7 separate regions of the Homo sapiens genome follow, and regions 1, 2, 3, 5, 6 and 7 are each linked to region 4. The links are contacts of gene promoters, found by promoter capture Hi-C in blood cells and fetal thymus (Javierre and others, 2016). All regions are on one chromosome and are shown on one strand. The core of a region is centred on a gene start or on the middle of the fragment in contact, and the rest is flanking DNA. Distances in the headings are between cores, read along the strand shown.

Region 1 (3,616 bases), core at 1,117-3,616, 200 kb before region 4:
CTTTCTAAGGAAATAACAAAGCAACCCAATAGGTAACAACCTTTTTTTGCACAAAAGCCAATTTGAGAAAATGAGTATGTATGTAGCCTGTGTTTTTATTTTATAGTTCCAAAAAAAAAGGTTTTTTTTAAACTAAGAAGTATAATATCTGCAGTTGTGCTTATGAATGCTGTTATTATTTCTCCATCTTCGCTACAATTTCAGAAACTACGGCCAGTATACACTAGAATAGCAGGCTTTAAAGTGGCCCCTTTGAACAAATGTTCTCTAGCAAGACACTTTTTAGAACCAGGTAACTGTAACTATTAAACTACCTACTTGCAAAACGTGTTTGGTGTCACTGGGTCTCTTGGTACTGGGTTTTGTTTTGTTTAGTTTAGAGACAAGGTCTAGCTCTGTCACCCAGGCTGGAGTGCAGTGGTGCAATCATAGCTCCCCACAGCCTTGAACTCCTGGGCTCAAGCAATCTTCTAGTCTCAGCCTCTGAAAGTGCCAGGATTACAGGTGTGAGCTGTAGTGCCTGGTCCCGTAAAAACAAAAACAAAAACCAACACCAGATGTGGTGGCTCATGCCTATAATCCCAGCACTTGGGAGGCCAAGGCAGAAGGGTATTTGCATATTTTGTAGAGACTTGAGCCCAGGAGCTTGAGACCAGCTGGGCAACATAGTGAGACCTTGTCTCTAAAAAAATTGGCTGGTCATGGTAGTGCACCTGCAGTCCCAGCTACTTGGGAGGCTGAGATGGGAAGATCACTTGAGCCCAAGAGGTCCCCAAGAGGTCCAGGCTGCTCACATCACTGCACTCCAGCCTGGGTAACAGAGCAAAACCCTTTTTCACACACACACACACACACACACAAAAAGCCAGAGCAGTGGCTCACACTTGTAATCCCAGCACTTTAGGAGGCCAAGGCAGGCGGATCCCTTGAGCCCAGGAGTTTAAGAACACCCTGGGCAACATGGCAAAACCCTGTCTCTACTAAAAATACAAAAAGTTAGCCAGGCGTGGTGGCACGAACCTGTAGTCCCAGCTACTCAGAAGGCTGAAGTGAGAAGATCACTTGAGTCCAGGAAGTGGAGGCTGCAGTGAGCCGTGACTGTACCACTGCACTCCAGCTTGGGAGACAGAGTGAGCAGAGTGAGACCCTGTTTCCAAAAAAAAAAAGAAAACAAAAGCTTTTCCATTGCAAATCAACCAAAAAGGAACGTCTTTAATACACAAGAAATATTCTTCAGTCTACTTAACTTAAAAATGTAACTGTAATAGATGCTTTTCTCTTGACAGCGGCCCCGGCAGGGTTGGAACTTTTCCTAGTCAAAACCCCCCTACTCACTCTGCAGACCCTTCCTGAAGGTCTTCGCCCCATACTGAGCCCATCTTCAGTCCCTTCACTTGTTCCAAACTAGCCCAATCCATGACCCTTCTCTGGGAGCTCAGCCAATAGATCCCAAAGTACCACAGCAGCACCTGGCTGCAGAAGGACCCCCGGGAAATGCAGTCAGGGGTGAGAAGATGGGTGGGCTGAATGAGCTCGGCCCTCTCTGGGCCTTAGTGCTGGCATCTATGAGATGAGGACATGCCTGAAGTCAGCCTGGAATTTTGAGCCCAGGTTATACCTGGTAAATAGAACTCCCAGGTCTCCGGATACTCACCACTAAAACAATAGCACCTCATTGTTTTTGTTTTGTTTTGTTTTGTTTTTTAATTATACTTTAAGTTCTAGGGTACATGTACACAATGTGCAGGTTTGTTACATAGGTATACATGTGCCATGTTGGTGTGCTGCACCCATTAACTCATCATTTACATTAGGTATATCTCCTAATGCTATCCCTCCTCCCTCCCCACACCCCACGACAGGCCCCAGTGTGTGATGTTCCCCTTCCTGTGTCCAAGTGTTCTCATTGTTCAATTCCCACCTACGAGTGAGAACACATTGTTTTTAACCCTCCCCAGCAGCTTCTTTAACCCCTCCATTTCCCTTTTGGCGGAGACCCTTGTCATCACTCCTCTCTACCACCAGTGCTCTCCCCTCCTGCACTGTCCCAGGCTTCCTCATTCTTCCCTTGCAGGTCCTTATCCAACATGGCTCACAATTCCTGGGAAGCCACAAGGAAACCAAATTCTAGTAGCAACTCAGAGTCAGCATTCATTAGCAGGTCACAGGGCCATAAGGATGCCAAGAAGGAATTTGTCCCTCTCCTTGTCCTGACAAAAGGCATAAGTAGAAGAAAATTGTTAGGTTTGGTTATGACCTTTGACATTCTCTCTTTGACATCCTCCCTTTCTGCACCCCTCTTCCACCTGTCAGGGCACCTAGGGCTCCCCGGGTCCCCACAAGTGTCTGCCCTAAGGCCCACCAGGCTTTCTTGCAGCCTGTCCCACATCTGGGTGTCACTGCCTTCCTCTGAATCACCCTCCTCTCAAACCAGCCGCCAGCGAGCCCAGCCCAGCCCAGCTAGTGCCCTACCACACCCGCCCCCAGGATAATTAACACCCAGCCACCCAGCATCGGACCTCTACACTTGAGCAAAATGTATATTTTAAAGGCAAATTCTCACGCCTGTAATCCCAGCACTTTGGGAGGCCAAGGCGGGCGGATCACGAGGTCAGGAGATTGAGACCATCCTGGCTAACACGGTGAAACCCCGTCTCTACTAAAAATACAAAAAATTAGCCAGGTGTGGTGGCACACACCTGTAATCCCAGCTACTAGGGAGGCTGAGGCAGGAGAATCACTTGAACTCAGGAGGCGGAGGTTGCACTGAGCCGAGATCGTGCCACTGCACTCCAACCTGGGCGACAAAGCAAGACTCTGTCAAAAAACAAACAAACAAAATAAAGGCTAAGTAACTGTAATCAAGTAACTATTTATTATTTATTTATTTTAGTGTATCCACAGGTTGTGCAGCCATCAACACTATCTAATTCTATAACATTTTCGTTACCCCAGAGAAACTTGTACCCCTTAGCAATGACTCCCCATTTCTTCCCCCCAACCAACCCCAGCCCCAGCCCCAGCCCCTGGGAATCCCTAATATACTTTGTTTTGTTTTTTGTTGGTGGTGTTTGAGACAGGATCTCACTCTGTCACCCAGGCTGGAGCGCAGTATCATGATCTCAGCTCACTGTAACCTCCACCTCCCGGGCTCAAGCGATCCTCCCACCTCAGCCTCCCCAGTAGCTTGGGCCTACAGGTGTGCACCACCACACCCAGCTAATTTTTGTATTTTTTGTAGAGACGGGGTTTCACCATGTTGGCCAGGCTGGTCTCAAACTCCTGAGCTCAAGCAATCCACCCACCTCAACCTCCCAAAGTGCTGGGATTACAGGCGTAAGCCACTGCACCTGGCTATTTTCTTTCTTTCTTTTCTTTTTTTTTTTTTTTTGAGACGGAGTTTCACTCTGTTGCCCAGGCTGGAGTGCAGTGGCGTGATCTCGGCTCACTGCAACTTCCACCTCCCGGGTTCAAGCAATTCCCTGCCTCACCCGGCTATTTTATATTTGTTGATCTGCTGCTGGTTATGCCTGTGAGCCAAATTTGTACAAATTCTTAAGCTTTACAATCATGCGTGCCTCTCTGTACGTATATTATACTTTAATTAAAAGTTATT
Region 2 (3,428 bases), core at 1-2,500, 240 kb after region 4:
TACAAAGCACAAGCTGGCAGGGGCCTCAGCTTGGAGGAGTTAAGGGTGGCTGGCATTTACAAGAAGGTGGCCCAGACCATTGGCATCTCTGAGGATGCAAGGAGGAGGAACCAGTCCACCCAGGCCCTGCAGGCCAAGGTGCAGAGGCTGAAGGAGGACCGCTCCTCACTCATCCTCTTCCCCAGGAAGCCCTTGGCCCCCAAGAAGGGAGACAGTTCTGCTGAAGAACTCGAACTGGATACTCAGCTGACAGGACCAGAAATGCCCATCGGCAATGTCTACAAGGAGAAAGCCAGAGTCATCGCTGACTAGGAGGAAAACTTCCAGGCCTTGTTAGTCTCTGTATGGCCCATGCAAATGCCCAGCTCTTCGGCATATAGGCACAAAGAGCCAAGGAAGCTGTAGAAGAGGACGCTTAAAAAAAAAAAAAACGGGTAGGCTCGAGCCGCTGCATCAGCTTCGCGCTGGGTCTCTCGGTCCCGCAGCCATGAGGAGGACGCTGCCCAGACTCACTACCCGCCCTCTCAGTCCCGCAGCCACGAGGAGGACGCTGCCCAGACTCACTACCCGCCGGCTCCCTCCCCCGCGTCCCTGTGGTGGTGGGCGAAGATGACCTGTTGTGCATCAGATGCCTTTGAGACATACAACTGGAGATGTGAGATAGGAAATTGAATGTAAAGACTGGAAGCTCGGCAGAGCAGAACTCTGAACAACGTGCCTCAGGAGTGCAAGTTGCTGATGAAGTGTGTCGCATTTTTTATGACATGAGAGTTCGTAAATGCTCCACACCAGAAGAAATCAAGAAAAGAACAAAGGCTGTCATTTTTTTGTCTCAGTGCAGACAAAAAGTGCATCATGTAGAAGGCAAAGAGATCTTGGTTGGAGATGTTGGTGTAACTATAAGTGAGCCTTTCAAGCATTTTGTGGGAATGCTTCCTGAAAAAGATTGTTGCTATGCTTTGTATGATGCAAGCTTTGAAACAAAAGAATCCAGAAGAATTGATGTTTTCTTGTGGGCATCAGAACTAGCACCTTTGAAAAGTAAAATGATCTATACAAGCTCCAAGGATGCAATCAAAAAGAAATTTCAAGGCATAAAACATGAATGGCAAACAAACGGACCAGAAGATCTCAATCGGGCTTGTACTGCTGAAAAGTTAGGTGGATCCTTTTTTTTTTTTTTTGAGATGGAGTCTTGATCTGTCGCCCAGGCTGGAGTGCAGTGACAGGATCTCGGCTCACTGCAACCTCTGCCTCCCGGGTTCAAGTGATTTTCCTGCCCAGCCTCCTGAGTAGCTGGGATTATAGCGTGCGCCACCACACCTGGCTAATTTTTGTATTCTTAGTAGAGTCAGGGTTTCACCATATTGGTCAGGCTGGTCTCGAACTCCTGACCTCGTGATTTGCCCTCCTTGGCCTCCCAAAGTGCTGGGATTACAGGCGTGAGCCAGCATGCCTGGCCAGTGGATCCTTAATTGTAGCCTTTGAAGGATGCCCTGTGTAGATCATCATTCAGTGCCACAAATTGAAAGCTTCCACGTTTAATGTTATCCTCTTGCTATATAAATAAAGCAAATATATTTAGGCCAGGGTCTCACTGAGGGGAGCTGTCTTGTCATCTTTTAGAGTAAACTAAATACTCTATAAACATATGCAAACAGCCCTAAATATATCTGTAGGGGTGGGTTGCCCCTCCACACCTGTGGGTGTTTCTCGTAAGGTGGGACGAGAGACTTGGGAAAGAAAAAGACACAAAGTATAGAGAAAGAAATAAGGGGACCCGGGGAAGCAGCGTTCAGCATATGGAGGATCCTGCCAGCCTCTGAGTTCCCTTAGTATTTATTAATCATTTGTGGGTGTTTCTCGAAGAGGGGGATGTGTCAGGGTCACAAGACAATTGTGGGGAGAGGGTCAGCAGACAAACACGTGAACAAAGGTCTTTGCATCATAGACAATGTAAAGGATTAAGTGCTGTGCTTTTAGATATGCATACACATAAACATCTCAATGCTTTACAAAGCAGTATTGCTGCCCGCAGGTCCCACCTCCAGCCCTAAGGCGGTTTTTCCCTATCTCAGTAGATGGAGCATACAATCGGGTTTTATACCAAGACATTCCATTGCCCAGGGACAGGCAGGTGACAGATGCCTTCCTCTTGTCTCAACTGCAAGAGGCATTCCTTCCTCTTTTACTAATCCTCCTCAGCACAGAACCTTTACGGGTGTCGGGATGGGGGATGGTCAGGTCTTTCCCTTCCCACGAGGCCATATTTCAGACTATCATATGGGGAGAAACCTTGGACAATACCTGGCTTTCCTAGGCAGAGGTCCCTGCGGACTTCCGCAGTGTTTGTGTCCCTGGGTACTTGAGATTAGGGAGTGGTGATGACTCTTAAGGAGCATGCTGCCTTCAAGCATCTGTTTAACAAAGCACATCTTGCACCGCCCTTAATCCATTTAACTCTGAGTTGACACAGCACATGTTTCAGAGAGCACGGGGTTGGGGGTAAGGTTATAGATTAACAGAATCTCAAGGCAGAAGAATTTTTCTTAGTACAGAACAAAATGGAGTCTCCTATGTCTACTTCTTTCTACACAGACACAGTAACAATCTGATCTCTTTTGCTTTTCCCCACATATATCTAAAGTCTAAAGTTGTTTTTTTAAAAAAAAAAAAGAAAAGAAAAGAAAAGAAAAAAGAAAATAGCCAGGCGCGGTGCTCACGCCTGTAGTTCTAGCACTTTGGGAGGCGAAAGTGGGTGGATTGTTTGAGCTCAGGAGTCCAAGACCAGCCTGGGCATCACGGTGAAACCCCATCTCTACTTTAAATATACAAAAAATTAGCCAGGCATGGCGGCGTGTGCCTGTAGTCCTGGCTACGAGGGAGGCTGAGGCAGGAGAATTGCTTGACCCTGGGAGGCAGAGGTTGCAGTGAGCCGAGATTGTGCCACTGAACTCCAGCCTGGGCCACAGAGCAAGACTCTGTCTCAAAAAAAAAAAAGAAAAGAAAAGAAAAGAAAAAAAATAAAGCCCTGTTGAGGACTTGTAATATATCAGGAATAATGCAAAAAAAAAATTATTCAGACATTTTGCAGCATGAAACACTTCAGTAAATTTATGAAGCTTTAGTTTGGTCTTTTCCTTTTTCTCCTGAGGGTGATTTTTATCAGTTCCTCAAGATTTTTTATTAGTGTTTCTCTGTGGCTCTCAAAAACTTCTTTATTTTTATGATTATTTCCTTATATTTTAGAGACTGGGTCTTACTCTGTCACACAGGCTGGAGTGCAGTGGCGAAGTAGCTCACTGTCACCTTGAGCCATGATCAAGGGATCCTCGGCTTCAGTCCCTCAAAGTGCTGGGATTACTGGCATGAGCCACCATACCTGGCCAGGCCAAGAAGTTCTTTACTTTCTTCCTCAATGATGTATA
Region 3 (3,444 bases), core at 842-3,341, 230 kb before region 4:
AGTGGAGATCGTGCCACTGCACTCCAGCCTGAGCGACAGAGGCAAGACTCTGCTTCAAAAATATATATGTATTAGTCTGTAGTTGTATTTCCTTGTAATGTCTTTGTCTGGTTTTTGTAGTAGGGTAATGCTGGACCCATAGAATGATTTAGGATATTTCCTCTGTGTCTGTCTTCTGGAAGAGACTGTAGAAAATTGGTATAATTTATTCACTAAATGTTTGATAGAATTACCAGTGAACCCATCTGGGCATGATGCTTTTTGTCTTGGAAGGTTATTATTTATTGAATTTCTTTATAGATATAGGCCTATTCAGATTGTCAATTTCTTCTTGTGTGAGTTTTGGCAGATTGTATCCTAAAGGAATTGATCCATTTCATCTAGGTTATCAAATCTGTGGACACAAAGTTGGTCTTTATTCTCCTTTTTTTTGAGATGGAGTTTCGCTTTTGTTGCCCAAGCTGGAGTGCAATGGTGTGATTTCGTCTCACTGCAACCTCCGCCTCCCAGGTTCAAGGGATTCTCCTGCCTCAGCCTCCCGAGTAGCTGAGATTACAGGTGCGCACCAAGATGCCCGGCTAATTTTTTGTATTTTTAGTAGAAATGGGGTTTCAGCATGTTAGCCAGGCTGGTCTCAACTCCTGACTTCAAGTGATCGACCAGCCTCGGCCTCCCAAAGTGCTGGGATTACAGGCATGAGCCACCGTGCCCGGTCCTCTCCTTTTAATTTCTATGGGCTCTGTGGTGATGTCCCCTCTTTCACTTCTGACATTAGTAATTTCTGTCTTGATTTTTTTCTTGGTTAGTCTCACTAGAGGCTTACCAATTTTATTAAGCTTTTCAAAGAACCAGTTGTTGGTTTTGTTGATTTTCTCTACTCATTTCCTGTTCTCAATTTTATTGCTTTCTGTTCTAATCGTTATATTTCTTCTCTTCTGCTTGCTTTGGATTTAGTTTACTCTTTTTTTTCTAGTTTCTAAGGTAGTTGATTGTATAATAAATCTTTCTTCTTTCCTACTATAATGCATGCAATGCTATAAATTTCCCTCTAAGCACTACTTTCGCTGTATCCCACAAATTTTGATAAGTTGTGTTTTCATTTTCATTAGTTCAAAATATTTTAAAATTTCTCTTGCGATTTCTTCTTTGACCCACGGGTTGTTTGAATCACATTGTTTAATTTCTAAGTATTTTGAGATTTTTCAGCTATCTTTCTGTTATTGATTTCTACTTTAATTCATTGTAGTTTGAGAGCAGGCATTGCATAATTTCTACTCTTTTAAATTTGTTAAGGTGTGCTTTATGGTCCACAGTGTGGTCTATCTTGGTGAATGTTCCATGTGACTGTAAGAAGAATGCATTGCTGAGTGAAGCAGTCTACAGATGTTCATTATATCCAGTTATTTATGGTGTTGCTGATTTCAACTACATCCTTAATGATTTTCTGCCTGCTGGATCTGTCCATTTCTGGAAGAAGGATGTTGAAGTCTCCATCTCTAATAGTGGATTCATCATTTCTCCTTGCAATTGTAACAATTTTTGCCTCATGTATTTTTGATGCTCTGTTATTAGGTGCAACACAGCAAGGATTATGTCTTCTTGCAGAATTGACCCCCTTATCATTATGTAATGCCCCTCTTTCTGCCTGATAATTTTGCTTACTCTGAAGTTTGCTCCATCTGAAACTAATGCCCCTCTTTCTGCCTGATAATTTTGCTTACTCTGAAATTTGCTCCATCTGAAATTAATATAGCTACGCCCACTGTTGTTTTTTTTTCCTTTTTTTTTTTTTTCAAGATGGAGTCTTGCTCTGTCTCCCAGAGCTGGAGTGCAATGGCGCAATCTCAGCTCACTGCAACCTCTGCCTCCCGGATTCAAGTAATTCTCCTGCCTCAGCCTCCCAAGAAGCTGGGATTACAGGCACACGCCACCAGCCCTGGCTAATTTTTGTATTTTTAGCAGAGATGGGGTTTCACCATGTTGGGCAGGCTGGTCTCGAACTCCTGACCTCATGATCCACCCGCCTCAGCCTCCCAAAGTGTTGGGATTACAGATGTGAGCCACTGCACCCAGCCCCACTATGTTTTAATTAATGCTAACTATATCTTTCTCCATCCACTCACTTTTGGTCTGTATGTGCCTTTATATTTAAAATGGGTTTATTGTAGACAACATATAGTTGGGGCTTTTTAAAAATTCATTCTGACAGTCTCTGTCTTTTAATTGATGCATTCAGACCCCACTGACATTCGAGGTGATTATTGACATAGTTGGATTCATACCTATCATATTTGTTACTGTTTTCTCATTGTTGCTCTTGTTTGTTCCTACTTTTATCTTCCGCTCTTTTTCTGGCTTTTGTAATTTTAAGTGAGCATTTGTATTATTCCATTTTCTCTCCTTGCTCTTAGCATATCAGCTATACTTGTTTTTTTTCCATTTCTTTTATTTTAGTGATTGCTCTGGAGTTTACAATATACAGTTAAAACTAATCCAAGTCTGCTTTCAAATAACACCATACTACTTCACATGTAGTGCAAGTACCTTATAATAACAAAATAATCCTAATTACTTCCCCCATCCTTTGTATTACTACCATCATTCATTTTACTTATGTGTAACATATATATATATGACCAAATACACGATGCTATTATTATTTTGAACAAACTATTGCCTGTTAGATCAATTAAGATCAAGAAAGGCCGGGTGCAGTGGCTCACTCCTGTAATCCCAGCACTTTGGGAGGTCGAGGCGAGTGAATCATTTGAGGTCAGGAGTTAAAGACCAGCCTGGCCAACATGGTGAAACCCTGTCTCTACTAAAAATTAAAAAAAAAAAAAAAATTGGCCAGGCATGGTGGTTCACACCTGTAATCATAGCACTTTGGGAGGCCAAGGCAGGCAGACTGCCTGAGCTCAGGCATTCAAGACCAGCCTGGGCAACATGGCGAAACCCCGTCTTTACTAAAAATACAAAAAATTAGCTGGGTGTGGTGGTGCACACCTGTAATTCCAGCTACTTGGGAGGCTGAGAGGGGAGAATCACTTGAACCTGGGAGGCAGAGGTTGTGCTGAGCCAAGATCGTGCCACTGCACTCCAGCCTGGACAGCACAGAGAGACTCTGTCTCAAAAACATAAAAAATAAAAATAAAAATAAAATTAGAGAGTCCAGAAAATTAAAACGAGAGAGTCCAGAAAATTCTCACAGCACTAAAGTCTTATAGGGAAATCAGTTCTTTCCTTCATCCTTCTAAGAGATTCACTCATAGGTTCACTAAGCACCTGCTGGCATCAGGTGCCATGCTAGGGACAGGAATGTCTGCGACATGATTCCTACCTTCAAGAAGCTTGTAGACTATTGAAACAAACAAACATTGATACAATGTGTAACAGCATATGAAGCACAAGTTCTATCACTTTTAATCCTCATTACAACTCGCC
Region 4 (3,322 bases), core at 616-3,115:
TCACTGACCTGTTCGAAGAAACGTAAGGGCTTATCTCTTTGCCTCTTCCCATCCCTCTTCCCTACTTCTTTTTGTTTGGGTTTTGGGTTTGTTTTTTTTGTTTTTTTTTTTTGAGACGGAGTCTCACTCTGTCACCCAGGCTGGAGTGCAGTGGCGCGATCTCGGCTCACTGCAAGCCCCACCTCCCGGGTTCACGCCATTCTCCTGCCTCAGTCTCTCGAGTAGCTGGGACTACAGGCGCCTGCCACCACGCCCAGCTAATTTTTTGTATTTTTAGTAGAGACAGAGTTTCACCGTGTTAGCCAGGATGGTCTCGATCTCCTGACCTCATGATCTGCCTGCCTCGGCCTCCCAAAGTGCTGGGATTACAGGCGTGAGCCACCGCACTCGTCCCTGTTGTTGTTTTTTTTTGAGACACAGTCTTGCTCTGCCACTCAGGATAGGGTGCAGTGGCATGATCTCGGCTTACTGCAACCTTTGCCTCCCGGGTTCAAGCAATTCTCCTGCCTCAGCCTCCCGAGTAGCTGGGATTACAGGCGCCCATCACCAAGCCCGGCTATTTTTTTTTTTTTTTTTTGTATTTTTAGTAGAAACGGGGTTTCACCATGTTGGCCAGGCTGGTCTCGAACTCCTGACTTCAGGTGATCTGCCCATCTCGGGCTCCCAAAGTGCTGAGATTACAGGCATGAGCCACCATGCCCAGTCTCTTCTCTACTTTTCTTGCAGTAACAGAATTGTTCAATCTGAATATCCAAGGTGAGACTGTATTCATATATAATCTGGGTAAATGACTGGCAAAATGGCAGGGAAGGAGGAGCTAAGGATGACTCTCCTGGAACCCTTCCTCAACTCCCCACTGCTGCCGCCTCTCCCTTGGCCCTGGGGCACCAAATCCAACCTTTGTCCTGGGCCTCACCTTGGCATAGTAGACGTGGTTGGAGCAACGGTAGTGAGTGAACTGGCAGAAAGACTCAAACCAGGAGGCATAAGGGAGGTTGGAGCAGACAGCACCTGAGAAAGGGCAGGGGTGGAGAAGATGAACCCGTGGGGAGCTTGGGGTGGGGCTGTGGGCAATGGACTCCACGCCATGGGGAGGGTGGAGAGTACGAGCTCATGGTGTGGTGCCAGCCATGCCCTTCCCCGCCTCACATGAGCACAGGGGTTTTTGCCCTGAGGTTTGGGTGAACACTCTGGGTGCCTCGGTTTCCCCCCTAGTCTGGCCCTCACCATCGGGCACTAAGCCGTGGTTTTCATATTGGTCCAGCTGGACGAGTGTGGGATTCCGGCAGCCGTGGGTTGCACGGAGACGGCAGGTAGTCTCTGCCTTCCAGGTTGGAGTCAGCAGTGCGAAGAAGCGTTCGTATTCGGTAGGAGAGAGAGGGCTGCCTGGAGTGGAGGCCTGAGTCGAATCCTGGGCTGCGGCAGGTGCCAGAGGCAGGAGCAGCACTGCGGAGCGGGCGAACGGATGATGGAAGGACCGAACCCCAAAACCCGCTCCGAGACCAGGACAGACAGACCCAGACTGGCAAATTAGGAACGGGGTGAGGGTTATCCCTGCTGACCAGGGCGGGGGGAGTCTAGAGACAGAGGCAAAGGTCCGGCCGCGGGCGGGGGGAGATGGGAGTATCCCAGGACCTAGGGAGCCGACCCAGCGCGACCACCATGAGGAAGCGATCCAGAAACCGTAAAAGCAGAGCTCTCGGGAGGGAGAGGACTAGCCCGGGGAGAGTCTGTTGGAGCAGGTGTAAACCTCTCACCCTTCAGGAGTGAGGGAAGGAAGCCAGCGGCTGGCTTCCTCATGGCCGGAGAAGATCCGCCCGCGTCCCGTGGACACAAGCCGCCTCTAACGGGCCAAGCCGCAGAGAGAGCCGCAGGCGCGGGGCGGGGCGCACGCGGGCACCGCCCACGCGTCACAAAGAGCGGGCCGGGGCGGGGCCTCGACAGCCGGGCTCTCAGGGCCCTAAAGTGGCCAGAGCCCATCCAGATGGTAGGAATGGCAAACAGCTACCTTCACTTAGCGTCTTTTTCTTTTTTTTTTGAGACGGAGTCCTACTCTGTCGCCCAGGCTGGAGTGCAGTGGTGCGATCTCGGCTCACTACAACCTCGGCGTCCCAGGTTCAAGTGATTCTCCTGCCTCAGCCTCCCGAGTAGCTGGGACTATAGGTGCACGCCACCACGCCCAGCTAATTTTTGTATTTTTAGTAGAGATGGTATTTCACCATGCTGGCCAGATGGTCTCGATCTCTTGACCTTGTGATCCGCCCACCTCGGCCTCCCAAAGTGCTGGGATTACAGGCGTGAGCCACCATGCCCGGCCTAATTTTTGTATTTTTAGTAGAGACTGGGTTTCACCATGTTGGCCAGGCTGGTCTTGAACTCCTGACTTCAAATGATCTGCCCACCTCGGCCTCCCAAAGTGCTGGGATTACAGGTGTGAGCCACCGTAGCCAGCCACTTAGCATCTTTACATGCACTACCTTACGTAATTGCCATAGGAATCCCATAAGGTAGATACACTATCATTCGTTTTACAGATGAGAAATCGGGGCTTAGGGAAGCAACTCGCCCAACAAACAGGTCGTGAGGTCTAGAGCTAAGCGCAGGCAGAGATAGAATGTGCAAAACCAAGTCAAGGCCTATCTGGGTAGGAACTAGACAGGGCGCCTCCATGAGCAAAATGGGTCCAAGGGGAAAACAAGAGGGTGGCTCAGTGGTCTACGAAAGTGGTTTCCAAGGGAGAATCGAGTAAGACAGTCCACTGAGGTATGGGAGGAGAACTTTTGCTTTTGTATCTGTTTTGTGTTTAAAATGAGAAATTCCAGCCTGGGCAACAGGGCGAAACCTCGTCTCTACAAAAAGTACAAAAAATTAGCCAAGCGTGGTGGCACGTGCCTGTAGTCCCAGTTTCTTGGGGGGCTGAGATGGGAGGATCGCTTGAGCCCATGAGGCCAAGGCTGCAGTGAGGTGCAATCGGGCCACTGCTCTCCAGCCTGGGTGACAAAGTGAGACCCTGTCCCCACCCAAAAGCAAAAGTAAAAAAGAAAAATAAAACAAGAAATTGTCTTGGGCCAGACTTGGTGGCTCACGCCTGTAATCCCAGCATTTGGGAAGTCAAGGCGGGTGGATTCCTTGAGCCCAGGAGTTCCAGACCAGCCTGGGCAACATGGCGAAACCCTGTCTCTACAAAAAATACAAAAATTGTCAGGTGTGGTGGTGTGCGCCTGTTGTCCCACTTACTACTTGGGGAGGCTGAGGTAGGAGGATCACCTGAGTCTTCAGAGGTCAAGGCTGCAGTGAGCTGAGATCTCACCACTGTGCTCCA
Region 5 (3,628 bases), core at 48-2,547, 170 kb before region 4:
TAACCTTTCAAGATTGGCTTTTTTCATTCATCCAAGTTATTGTGTGTATCATTACTTTTTCAACCATCCAAGTTATTGTGTGTATCATTAGTTTTCACCACTGATTAATATTCCGTGGTACATTTAACCATTTACCTGCTGAAGGACATTTGGAGTGATTTCAGCACTGGGCTATTACAAATAAAGTTGCTGTGAACTTTCATACAGGTTTTGTGTGAACATAAATTCTCATTTCTCTGGGATAAATGCCTGAGTGCAATGCTTGGGCAGTAAGGTAATTGCATCTCTAGTTTTATAAGAAACTGCCTTTGCCTGTGTTGCCCAGGCTGGTCTTAAACTCCTGAGCTCAAGCAATTCTCCCACTTCAGCTTCCCAAGTAGCTAGGACTATAGGCATCATGCCCAGCTGTATTTTTCTTATTTTAACCATTCTAATATGTGTTCAGTGCTATCATTGTGGTTTTAATTCTTATTTCACTGATGGCTAATGATATCAAATATCTTTTAAAGTGTTTGCCTTGTATATATTATCCTATTTGATGAAATGTTGGTTCATGTCTTTTGGCCATTTTCTTTTTTTTTTTATTGATCATTCTTGGGTGTTTCTCGCAGAGGGGAATTTGGCAGGGTCATAGGACAATAGTGGAGGGAAGGTCAGCAGATAAACAAGTGAACAAAGGTCTCTGGTTTTCCTAGGCAGAGGACCCTGCGGCCTTCCGCAGTGTTTGTGTCCCTGGGTACTTGAGATTAGGAAGTGGTGATGACTCTTAAGGAGCATGCTGCCTTCAAGCATCTGTTTAACAAAGCACATCTTGCACCGCCCTTAATCCATTTAACCCTGAGTGGACACAGCACAGGCCGCAGAGAGCACAGGGCTGGGGGCAAGGTCACAGCTCAACAGCATCCCAAGGCAGAAGAACCCCTCCCAGTACAGAACAAAATGAAGTCTCCCAAGTCTACTTCTTTCTACACAGACACAGCAACAATCTGATTTCTCTATCTTTTCCCCACCTTTCCCCCTTTTCTATTCCACAAAACCGCCATCGTCATAATGGCCCGTTCTCAATGAGTTGTTGGGTACACCTCCCAGACGGGGTGGTGGCCGGGTAGAGGGGCTCCTCACTTCCCAGAAGGGGTGGCCGGGCAGAGGCGACCCCCACCTCCCTCCCGGACGGGGCGGCTGGCCGGGCGGGGGCTGACCCCCCACCTCCCTCCCGGACGGGGTGGCTGCCAGGCAGAGACGCTCCTCACCTCCTAGACGGGGTCACGGGCGGGCAGAGGCGCTCCCCACATCTCAGACGATGGGCGGCCGGGCAGAGACGCTCCTCACTTCCTAGACGGGATGGCGGCCGGGAAGAGGTGCTCCTCACTTCCCAGACTGGGCAGCCGGGCAGAGGGGCTCCTCACATCCCAGATGATGGGCGGCCAGGCGGAGACGCTCCTCACTTCTCAGACAGGGTGGCTGCCGGGCGGAGGGGCTCCTCACTTCTCAGATGGGGCAGCTGCCGGGCGGAGGGGCTCCTCACTTCTCAGACGGGGCAGCCAGGCAGAGACGCTCCTCACCTCCTAGACGGGGTCACGGCCAGGCAGAGGCGCTCCCCAAATCTCAGACGATGGGCGGCCGGGCAGAGACGCTCCTCACTTCCTAGACGGGATGGCGGCCGGGAAGAGGTGCTCCTCACTTCCCAGACTGGGCAGCCGGGCAGAGGGGCTCCTCACATCCCAGACGATGGGCGGCCAGGCGGAGACGCTCCTCACTTCCCAGACGGGGTGGCGGCTGGGCAGAGGCTGCAATCTCGGCACTTTGGGAGGCCAAGGCAGGCGGCTGGGAGGTGGAGGTTGTAGCTAGCCGAGATCATGCCACTGCACTCCAGCCTGGGCAACATTGAGCACTGAGTGAACAAGACTTGGTCTGCAATCCCGGCACCTCGCGAGGCCTTCTGAGTAGCTGGTACTACGGGCGCCTGCCACCATGCCTGGCTAATTTTTGTATTTTTAGTAGAGACGGGGTTTCACCATATTGGCCAGGCTGATCTCGAACTCCTGACCTCAGATGATCTGCCAGCCTCAGCCTCCCAAAGTGCGGGATTACAGGCGCGAGTCTTGTATTTCTTTTAAAATCAATCTCACACACACCCTTTTTTCTCCCTCTCCCTCACATATCCTGTTTTCTCTTTTTAGACATCGGACTATTAATTAGATATTGGACTATTTGGCTTAATTTTCTAATTATCTTTCTTATTTCCTGTCTCCATCTCTGCTGGTTCTTGTTCTTGGTGCCTTGTTCCTTATTTGTTTGGAATTTTTGACCACAATTTATTTTTCTTGGAACTGTATCTGTGGAAATTCCCCGAGGCCTAGATTAAAGATGAGTTCATCCAGAAAGGATCTGCATTGCTTCTGCTGGGTTCTTGGTGGTACTGTCAATCCAAAACCACTTTAAATTCTTGCCATTTTCTTTTTAGGATCAACAAAGAGTTCAGGCAGAAACACCACAGCCTGTGGTTATACATTCTCTGCAAATACTTAAAAGAAAAAAATAAAAGAACTCCAGCAGGCACCTGGGTTCCAGACAAACAACATTCCACGGAGTGCTCTGGGGCAGTTTGGGTTCTAGTATATTCGTAATTCATTCTTAGATGAGGATATAGTCCTTTGGGGTTCTGACTTTATGGTAAGGACTTTCTATTAGATTTCCAACCTTGGGTAAGCCCTGGGCTTTATTTCCTGTGCCACAGTGGTAGCCTGTGAGGCTGCTACGCTCATATTAAACTTTATAGCAAATACCCTCAGAGCAAAATAGTCTTTGGGACTCAGCAACTTCCCTGGTTACTGGCTTTCACTTAGTTTTTCGTGTTTAAATAGTCTTTACTCTCAGGCCAACTCATAAATAGATTTTATCTATAGAAGAACAAAGAAGAATAAAATAGGAGGAATAACTATCTCATGCTTACTACTATATAGTTGCAGTAATCAAGACAGTGTGGTATTGGTGGGAGGACAGACACATAGATCGATGGCACCGATGAGAGAATGCAGAAATAGACCCCTACAAATATGCGCATCTGATTTTTTTTTTTTTTTTTTTGAGACAGAGTCTTGCTCTGTCGCCAGGCTGGAGTGCAGTCATGCAATCTCGGCTCACTGCAACCTCTGCCTCCCAGGTTCAAGCGATTCTCCTGCCTCAGCCGACCAAGTAGCTGGGACTACAGGCGTGCGCCACCACGCCCAGCTAATTTTTTGTATTTTTAGTAGAGACGGGGTTTCACCGTGTTGGCCAGGATAGTCTGGATCTCTTGACCTCGTGATTCGACTGCCTTGGCCTCCCAAAGTGCTGGGATTACAGGCGTGAACCACCATGCCTGGCCTTCTGTATTTTTTAAGATTCCTATCTGGAGAGCCCCCAGCTCTGCGGCGGCTTCACCCGCGAGTCCCAAGGCAAGCGAGCGGCTGGGTCGCCCCCACCGGCCCCATGGCAGCCCCCGGGGCCCCAGCTGAGTACGGCTACATCCGGACCATCTTGGGCCAGCAGATCCTGGGACAACTGGACAGCTCCAGCCTGGCGCTGCCCTCTGAGGCCAAGCTGAAGCTGGCTGGGAGCAGCGGCCGCGGCAGCCAGTCAAGAGCCT
Region 6 (3,253 bases), core at 34-2,533, 250 kb before region 4:
GTATTTATATTGTAACCACATGCAAATAAAAAGAATGGGACCTAGATAATTTATTTTCTTGGGATTTATACAGAAACACTATTCCATGGAGACAATCTCAAAGACAAAGGTCAAGACACTAAAATATAATCCCATAAAGATATTTCAGTGAGGAGCTGGTGAGTATAGTCCAGGTAATAACAGTCTCGTCAGTGATGGCTGACAACGTGCCAGGCAGTGTTCTCAATGCTTTACAGTACTAACTTACTTAATCTTCACAATAACTCCCTAAGGTAGATATGATTCCCATTTAACAAATGAGGAAACTGAGGCACAGAGCGGTAACTTTCCCAATTCAGCTGCAAATGACAAAGCTGGGATTTGCACCTAGTTCGTCTGGCTTTTAGAGGCCTCTTGGGGAAAAAAAAGCCTTCATATACCACGCCCTTCCAGAATTTCTTTGAACGGGTAGAATGGTCTGGCCTTCTCAAATAATCAGATCTCTTGCATGTTCCGCAGGTGTTACTTTTCAGTCAACTCTCAAACATCTAGCCACACGCGAAGTGAAAAATGTTCTCCAAGGTTGATTGAAGGGAAATGTGTGCAATTTTTTTTTTTTTTTTTGAGACAGGATCTAATTCTGTCACTCAGGCTGTTGTGCAGTGGCACTATTATGGCTCATGGCAACCTTGAACTCCTGGCTCAAGGGATCCGCCCACCTCAGCCTCCCAAGTAGCTGGGGCTATAGGTGTGTGCCACGACGCCCAGCTAATTTTTTGTATTTTTAGTAGAGATCAGGTCTCCCTGTGTTGCCCAGGCTGGTCTCGAACTCCTGGGCTCAAGCAATCCTCCTGCCTTGGCCTCTGAACATGCAGTGATTACAGGCGTGAGAGCCACCGTGCCTGACCTGAGGTGTGCACTTTAGACATAAAATGAGAGAGGCCAAGTTCACATTTTGTTGGTGAACAGAAATCTAGGCTGGCCTCCTTTTGGTTCAGAAAGAGTATTTATGATTTTTACTTTTTTGGTTTCTTTTTGTCTTCTTTTATTTTTACCCCCAAAAAGGACTTTAAATCTTCTCAAGCCCTCTTATTAGTAAATGTTTGCCCCTCCCTGCCCCTGAATTCTCTCCTGTGCTCGGTCGAGAGGATCTTAGCTTGCAGGATTGTTAGGGAGCTGCTGCCAGCCGGCTGCTCCTTCCATAAAAGGCCACTCTCATGGGTCTGATATGAGGAACTCTGTCGCTGGAGCTCATCAGGGTGGGGCGGCTGCAAAACACACACCTCAGAAGGCGTCTGATCCAATGGAGTGGATGGGTCATTTAAGGTTGACTGTGAAAATATCACATCCAACTTCCTTTTTTGAAAAGTAAATAATGGTGAGCTGTATCTTTAAATAAAGTTAAATCCTCCTGCCCCTGCAATATGCTGGGGCCAGACCTCATGAATTCTTAATAATTGTTCTAATGTGTTTAGATAAAAAACAAATTTTATACATTTTTTTCAACAAAATAAAAGGAGGAAAATATTTTGAAAGAAATGATGCTGAAGCACAGCCCTTTGTGACACCATTCAAATTTATAATTATACCTGCCTGTATTTTTTTAGAGACAGGGTCTTACTGTGTCGCCCTGGCTTGAGTGCAGTGGTATAATCGTGGCTCATATAGCCTCAGCTCCTAGACTCAAATGATCTTCCTACCTCAGCCTCCCACGTAGCTAGAGCTACAGATGCGTGCCACCACACCTGGCTAATTTTTTTTTAATTTCTTTTTTAAGAAGTGGGGTCTTGCTATGTTGTCCAGGCTGGTCTCAAACTCCTGGGATCAAGTGATCCTCCCACCTCAGCCTCCCAAAGAGCTGAGATTGCAGGCATGAGCCACTGCACCTGGGCTGCCTAAATTAATTTTCTAGGGCCGCCATAACAAAGTACTGCAGACTCGATAGCTTAAGCTGCAGAGATTTATCTTCTCACAGCTCTGGAGGCTGGAAGTCAGAGGTCAACGTGTTGGCAAGGTTGGTGTCCTCTGAGGCCTCTGTCCTTGGCCTGCTAATGGTGGCCTTCCTGCCACCTATGTCTTCACATGGTCTTGCCTTTGTGCATGAGTGTGTCCTAATCTTCTCTTAGTGGATTAGGGCCCATCCTGATGACCTCATTTTAACTTAGTCACCTCTTTAAAGCCCCTGTCTCCAAATAAGGCCCCATTCTGAGGTCCTGGGAGTTAGGGCTTCAGCACGTGGATTTTGGAGGGAGACACAGTTCCACCCACAGCATTACCCATGTCTATTTTGCCAGTGTGGAGTCAGTACAGGCTCCAGGACACATCCACAGAGCACAGGCCACGTAGAGGGGAGCTCCTGTCTACAAGGAAAAGCTGGCAGAAAACCAACAAAGACAGCCTCTTGATGGTGGTCTTCAAAAGATGCAACAGGATGCAATGGCAGTTGACAATGGGGTAACTGTTGGTTGTGAGAACCCTAATCCTCTACCACAGGGAGGAGAAAGCTAACACCAAGTCCAACCCACATCAACACGGGGGTGGGACACCCGTTAGGGGGCCAAGGCTGTAGTCCAGAAGAAAGGTGGATGGAACTGGGGACAGAGCAGTAGCACAGGGAGATGGGGGAGGATGGGGTAATTCAGAATTTCCCTTTTTGAGAGTGGCATCAACACAATGTCAAAGTAGGAGTTCTCCGGCTTCTCTCCTCCCCAACAGAATTTCAACTAGCAACAATCCTGTGGCAAGTTTACCACCCTGAATATCCCAGAACTTGGAGTGAAGCTTTGCATCCCCTGGGATGGCAGAGCCAAGAAAAACCATGAGGACGGTAAGGGGATGGCTGCTTTCTGACCACGCCACTCCTCCCCAAGCCCGCACAGTGCCACACGCAGAGGAGTCCCTGGATGCTCGGTTTCTCCAGTGGACACAGTGGATGGGAGGTGGGCGTTCGGCTTCCCCACCAGTCTGAGACTTCACAGGAGACTCACTCTAGTCTTTTCCCGCAGGAAGCACTGTGAGTACCGGCAGGGTCAGCCCAACAAGGGTCAGTAAGAACTTCCCTTTTCAAAAGATAAAGCGGTTCACATAGACAGCTGTGGTGGACTCTTTCTGCTGCCTGTCCAACAGACTTCTGCACATTTCCTAAGGACAGAACCGCATTTTTGTACTAGAGCAGAGATTCCGTGACATCAGGAGAAGAGGCCCTTCCCCCAATCCCAGGAGCCAATAAACTCATTCTTCTTTGCAATTGTACAATGACATGCACAGGGAAGTC
Region 7 (3,291 bases), core at 15-2,514, 190 kb after region 4:
TGGGGAGCTGGGACGGGGCCCCGCTGCCGGACCTGCAGCCCTGGACAGATGGGGAACACTGTGCCTCCCTGAACAGAAATGGCAGGGGAGGAGGCTGATGCTTTAAATGAAGAGGATGGTGGGGTTGGGAGGTATAACCCTGCTCCTCTCTCCCAGTCTGTGCAATAAAGGTCGTGAAGATCTCTCAGCCAGGGGCCAGTCAAGTGTATCACAGATTCTGTGATGGCTGGAGGTGGGGGTGGCTCTGGCTGGCCTGGGAGGAGACAGGTGTCTTTGGGCCTCCCAGAGGCGGGGCGCCTGGAGCCTGTGATTTGTCAGGGAAATCTCAGCCACCTGCTCCCCTCATGCAAATGACCCAAGCCCCTGGCAGCTGCTCCTTAGGCCTCCAAGTGTAAGCCCTGTCTTCCCTCTCTGAGCTTTGCTGAGACTTAGGGCCGCCTGCTTTCTCTCTGACCCCTGCTTTCACAGCCTCGAGAGGGCAAGGAGGGGGCCAGACCCCAGCCTGGGAGCAGCGTGCGGGCCTTCCCTCCACTTGAAATCCGTTGCCCGCCCACAATAGGGGCAGACCTGTCCATCCTTCTCTGTGGGTCCCCTGTACCTTTCTCCCCCAACAGGATCAGACCCAGAGGCAGCTGGTTGGGGTTTGTCGAGAAGAAGGATTATCCAGATCAGTCCTTTCTAATCTCAGCTCCTGCCTGTACCCTCCCATACTCACCAAACCCTCTTCCCCACCACCCTGAGCTGAGGAGCACAGTTTGAGGTACTGACAATGGGGCCATCTATCACCCTTATATCCCACCTCCTGGCCTGGTTGCTAAGTGGCCCTGACTGCCAAGATCATCACCATGGATGGGGGCCGGGACCAGGGGGGCCACTGGAGCTGTAGTTGTCTGCTCCTTTGCACCCCTCCCAAACCCCAACCCTTAATCCTCACAGCTTTGCTCTAATCCTGTGGGGCCTGATGCTCTTATCTCTGCCTGCAGAGACTGACCAGGGAAGCACCCCTTCACCCCCTCCTCTCTCAGGGCTTGTGGTGGGGGCTGCCCCTCTCTATGGCCCCACACTCCTGCCCCCAACCCTCCTCCCGGCTGGGCCCAAGTCTCTCTGGAATCCGTACACCTCCCTCCCTCCCCCCACCCCTTCCCCCCACCCCTGCCAGCTGATTTCATTTGCCTGACGTTGTGGTTGGCTCTACCCTTCCCTGTCAGGCCCCCCCAACCCCCCGCCGGTCGGGGCCAGGCCAGGCCAGGCCAGCTCCTCTGGCAGCAGAGCCTGGGCAGGTGACGGGCGGGCGCGGGCGTCGCAGCTGAGGGAGTAAGGAGGCTCCCAGGAACCGGAGCTGGAAACCCGGCCGAGGTCCAGCCAGAGCCCAAGTAAGAGGGAGCTGGCCTGGGCTCTGCTCTCCTGGGCTGGGGCGCAGGCAGGGCTCAGGCAGGCTGGGGCTGGACGCAAAGGACCTCAAACTTGGAGGGCCTAGCTGGGGAGAGGGTGCAGCCACCCAGTCGTTTCCCTGTGTCTTGGAGTCTGGTGTGGGCACGAAGGGCAGAAGCACAGCCTGGTGGGGGGTTCCTCAACACCGACCCCATGTTCCTGGCAGGAGCCAGAGTGACCCCTCGACCTGTCAGCCATGGGGGAGATGGAGCAACTGCGTCAGGAAGCGGAGCAGCTCAAGAAGCAGATTGCAGTAACTCCAGAGCCCTACCCCTGGGGCCCCAGAAAACAGCTGGGGACATGAGGAGCGTGGCCCAGGGGGAGGGGGCTGGGTTTGCTCTTGAGTGACTAGAAGTGACCAGGGACTTTCTAAACTTGGTTCGCATATTTGAGACCCCCAAGCCCCAGAGCCCCAAGACCAACCTGCCCTGAAGGCCCATGCACCTGCCACCCCCACCTCGCCCTTGCTCCCCTGATGTCTGCTTTCCCTGCAGGATGCCAGGAAAGCCTGTGCTGACGTTACTCTGGCAGAGGTAAGACCCCCTGTCCCCCGGAAGGCAGGGCATGGGGGGAGGGGAAGGGAGCTCCCCGACCCGCAATAGCGCGTTGCTCCGAGCATTAGTACAGCACGTCCTTGGAGTGAGGAAACCCATTAATTAATTCATTCGACCAACATTTTAGCGGGACCTGCTCTGAGCCAGGCACCATATTGGATGCGAAAGATGCGGACACGGTTCCTATTCTCATCCGTAGAACAAGAGTGACCACAGCCCCCTCCCAGGGCCTTGAAGATGAAGAAGCGATAGTACTTTGTAAATTATAAAGCCCTTGTAGACTCTAGCTGCTAGTTTTCTATGCTGTATTTTGTCAATTCTAAGATGCACATTTCTTCACATTTTGACATCTCTGAAATCAAGGTGCATTCAGCAATGGATCATTGTTTCAATTAGAATTGACAGCATCTTTTCTTTCTTAGTGATGCATCTTAGATTGGATTAAATATGTTAATAGTGAACACTTTTTATGAGCCAGATACTGGGCTAAGCTGCATAAATACCTGATTTCATTGAATTTTCATGATATCTCTGTAAGGTAGGTGCTATGATAAGCCTCATTTTACACCTTGAGTAAACAGACTCAGGGAGGTGAAGCAACTTGCCCAAGATAACAAAGCAGGCCGGGCGCAGTGGTTCACGCCTGTAATCCCAGCCCTTTGGGAGACTGACGTGAAAGGATCACTTGAGCTCAGGAGTTTGAGACCAGCCTGGGCAACATAGTGAGATCTCTTCTTAATATAAAAAAAATTGCTTTTAACTTTTTAAAAAAAGATAGCAATGCAAGTGATGGCAAATCAAGTCTGTTCACTCTGGACCCCCAGCCTAAGTCTAAAATGTGGTTAGAGCTCAAGGGGCATAGTACCACAGATTTCAGGAGGTACAGTTCAGGGTCATGGTGATGCCCCAGGCACCCAGTTAAAAAGCTAGCCGTGCTGCAGCGGTGGGTGCAAGCAGGCTCCTCTCGGCTTGGGAGAGCCAGCTCTGTGCATCTCTTCCCAAATCTGTTTCCAATGACCTCACATTGGCAGCTGGAAACTGGTCAAAGTGCAAGTATTCGTATCGTGGAAATCACCTTCCCACCTTCCTCACCAACACTGGAGAGGTGCTTGTTAAACACTTACAAGCAACACACCTCTGGCCATGCATGCATCTCTTTCCCACATCAGTCTAAGACACTCCAGGGCAGAGACTTATTTCTCTAAGGCTGGGGGCCTGACCTAGAGCCTGGCACAGAGCGGGAACTTGTATAGATCAGTGGCAGTGACAGACATCTGGGCACGTAACCTGCTCACCCTGATATTCA

Evidence for each region. Contacts are between HindIII fragments. The CHiCAGO score rates a contact against its expected background, and 5 or more counts as called.
Region 1: a fragment that was not itself captured here is called in contact with the fragment with the promoter of ACRBP in region 4 in 1 of 17 cell types (non-activated CD4 T cells); the score reaches 5.2 in non-activated CD4 T cells.
Region 2: a contact is called between a fragment that was not itself captured here and the fragment with the promoter of ACRBP in region 4, in 3 of 17 cell types (non-activated CD4 T cells, activated CD4 T cells and naive CD8 T cells). The highest score is 6.4, in non-activated CD4 T cells.
Region 3: a contact is called between a fragment that was not itself captured here and the fragment with the promoter of ACRBP in region 4, in 2 of 17 cell types (naive CD4 T cells and total CD4 T cells). The highest score is 5.3, in naive CD4 T cells.
Region 5: a fragment that was not itself captured here is called in contact with the fragment with the promoter of ACRBP in region 4 in 4 of 17 cell types (non-activated CD4 T cells, total CD4 T cells, total B cells and 1 more); the score reaches 6.0 in non-activated CD4 T cells.
Region 6: a fragment that was not itself captured here is called in contact with the fragment with the promoter of ACRBP in region 4 in 4 of 17 cell types (non-activated CD4 T cells, naive CD8 T cells, activated CD4 T cells and 1 more); the score reaches 7.3 in non-activated CD4 T cells.
Region 7: a contact is called between the fragment with the promoter of GNB3 here and the fragment with the promoter of ACRBP in region 4, in 14 of 17 cell types (activated CD4 T cells, naive CD4 T cells, non-activated CD4 T cells and 11 more). The highest score is 19.4, in activated CD4 T cells.

The regions. Positions count from the first base shown.
Region 1 is chr12:6,445,941-6,449,556 of GRCh38, forward strand. The region is part of intron 2 of CD27 (CD27 molecule); the gene reads left to right. It overlaps CD27-AS1 (CD27 antisense RNA 1), which reads right to left. Exons shown (of 6, transcript NR_015382.2): 2 at 2,700-2,797; 3 at 2,097-2,210; 4 at 1,021-1,147. Among named protein-coding and RNA genes, the nearest start is that of CD27, 2.8 kb to the left of the region's middle. RefSeq lists an enhancer at 176-295. The HindIII fragment of the contact is 2,383 bases long and covers 1,176-3,558 here.
Region 2 is chr12:6,884,186-6,887,613 of GRCh38, forward strand. The region is part of intron 1 of LOC105369632 (a long non-coding RNA gene); the gene reads right to left. It also overlaps the pseudogene RPL13P5 and the pseudogene DSTNP2. Among named protein-coding and RNA genes, the nearest start is that of SPSB2, 13 kb to the left of the region's middle. RefSeq lists enhancers at 1-322, 1,969-2,516. The HindIII fragment of the contact is 559 bases long and covers 972-1,530 here.
Region 3 is chr12:6,413,248-6,416,691 of GRCh38, forward strand. No RefSeq gene overlaps it. Among named protein-coding and RNA genes, the nearest start is that of CD27, 30 kb to the right of the region's middle. The HindIII fragment of the contact is 2,514 bases long and covers 835-3,348 here.
Region 4 is chr12:6,645,567-6,648,888 of GRCh38, forward strand. ACRBP (acrosin binding protein) reads right to left here and starts at 1,866. Exons shown (of 10, transcript NM_032489.3): 1 at 1,758-1,866; 2 at 1,228-1,446; 3 at 917-1,011. The coding sequence starts at 1,800. RefSeq lists enhancers at 1,287-1,800, 1,724-1,793. The HindIII fragment of the contact is 16,958 bases long and covers 1-3,322 here.
Region 5 is chr12:6,474,244-6,477,871 of GRCh38, forward strand. It overlaps the pseudogene PKP2P1. Among named protein-coding and RNA genes, the nearest start is that of VAMP1, 5.4 kb to the left of the region's middle. The HindIII fragment of the contact is 6,710 bases long and covers 1-3,628 here.
Region 6 is chr12:6,391,523-6,394,775 of GRCh38, forward strand. LTBR (lymphotoxin beta receptor) reads left to right here. Exons shown (of 10, transcript NM_002342.3): 10 at 1-44. Among named protein-coding and RNA genes, the nearest start is that of LTBR, 9.0 kb to the left of the region's middle. The HindIII fragment of the contact is 2,950 bases long and covers 1-2,758 here.
Region 7 is chr12:6,839,661-6,842,951 of GRCh38, forward strand. It overlaps GNB3 (G protein subunit beta 3), which reads left to right and starts at 1,265. Exons shown (of 10, transcript NM_002075.4): 1 at 1,265-1,373; 2 at 1,598-1,684; 3 at 1,926-1,964. The coding sequence starts at 1,628. It overlaps P3H3 (prolyl 3-hydroxylase 3), which reads left to right. Exons shown (of 15, transcript NM_014262.5): 15 at 1-187. The HindIII fragment of the contact is 12,557 bases long and covers 1-3,291 here.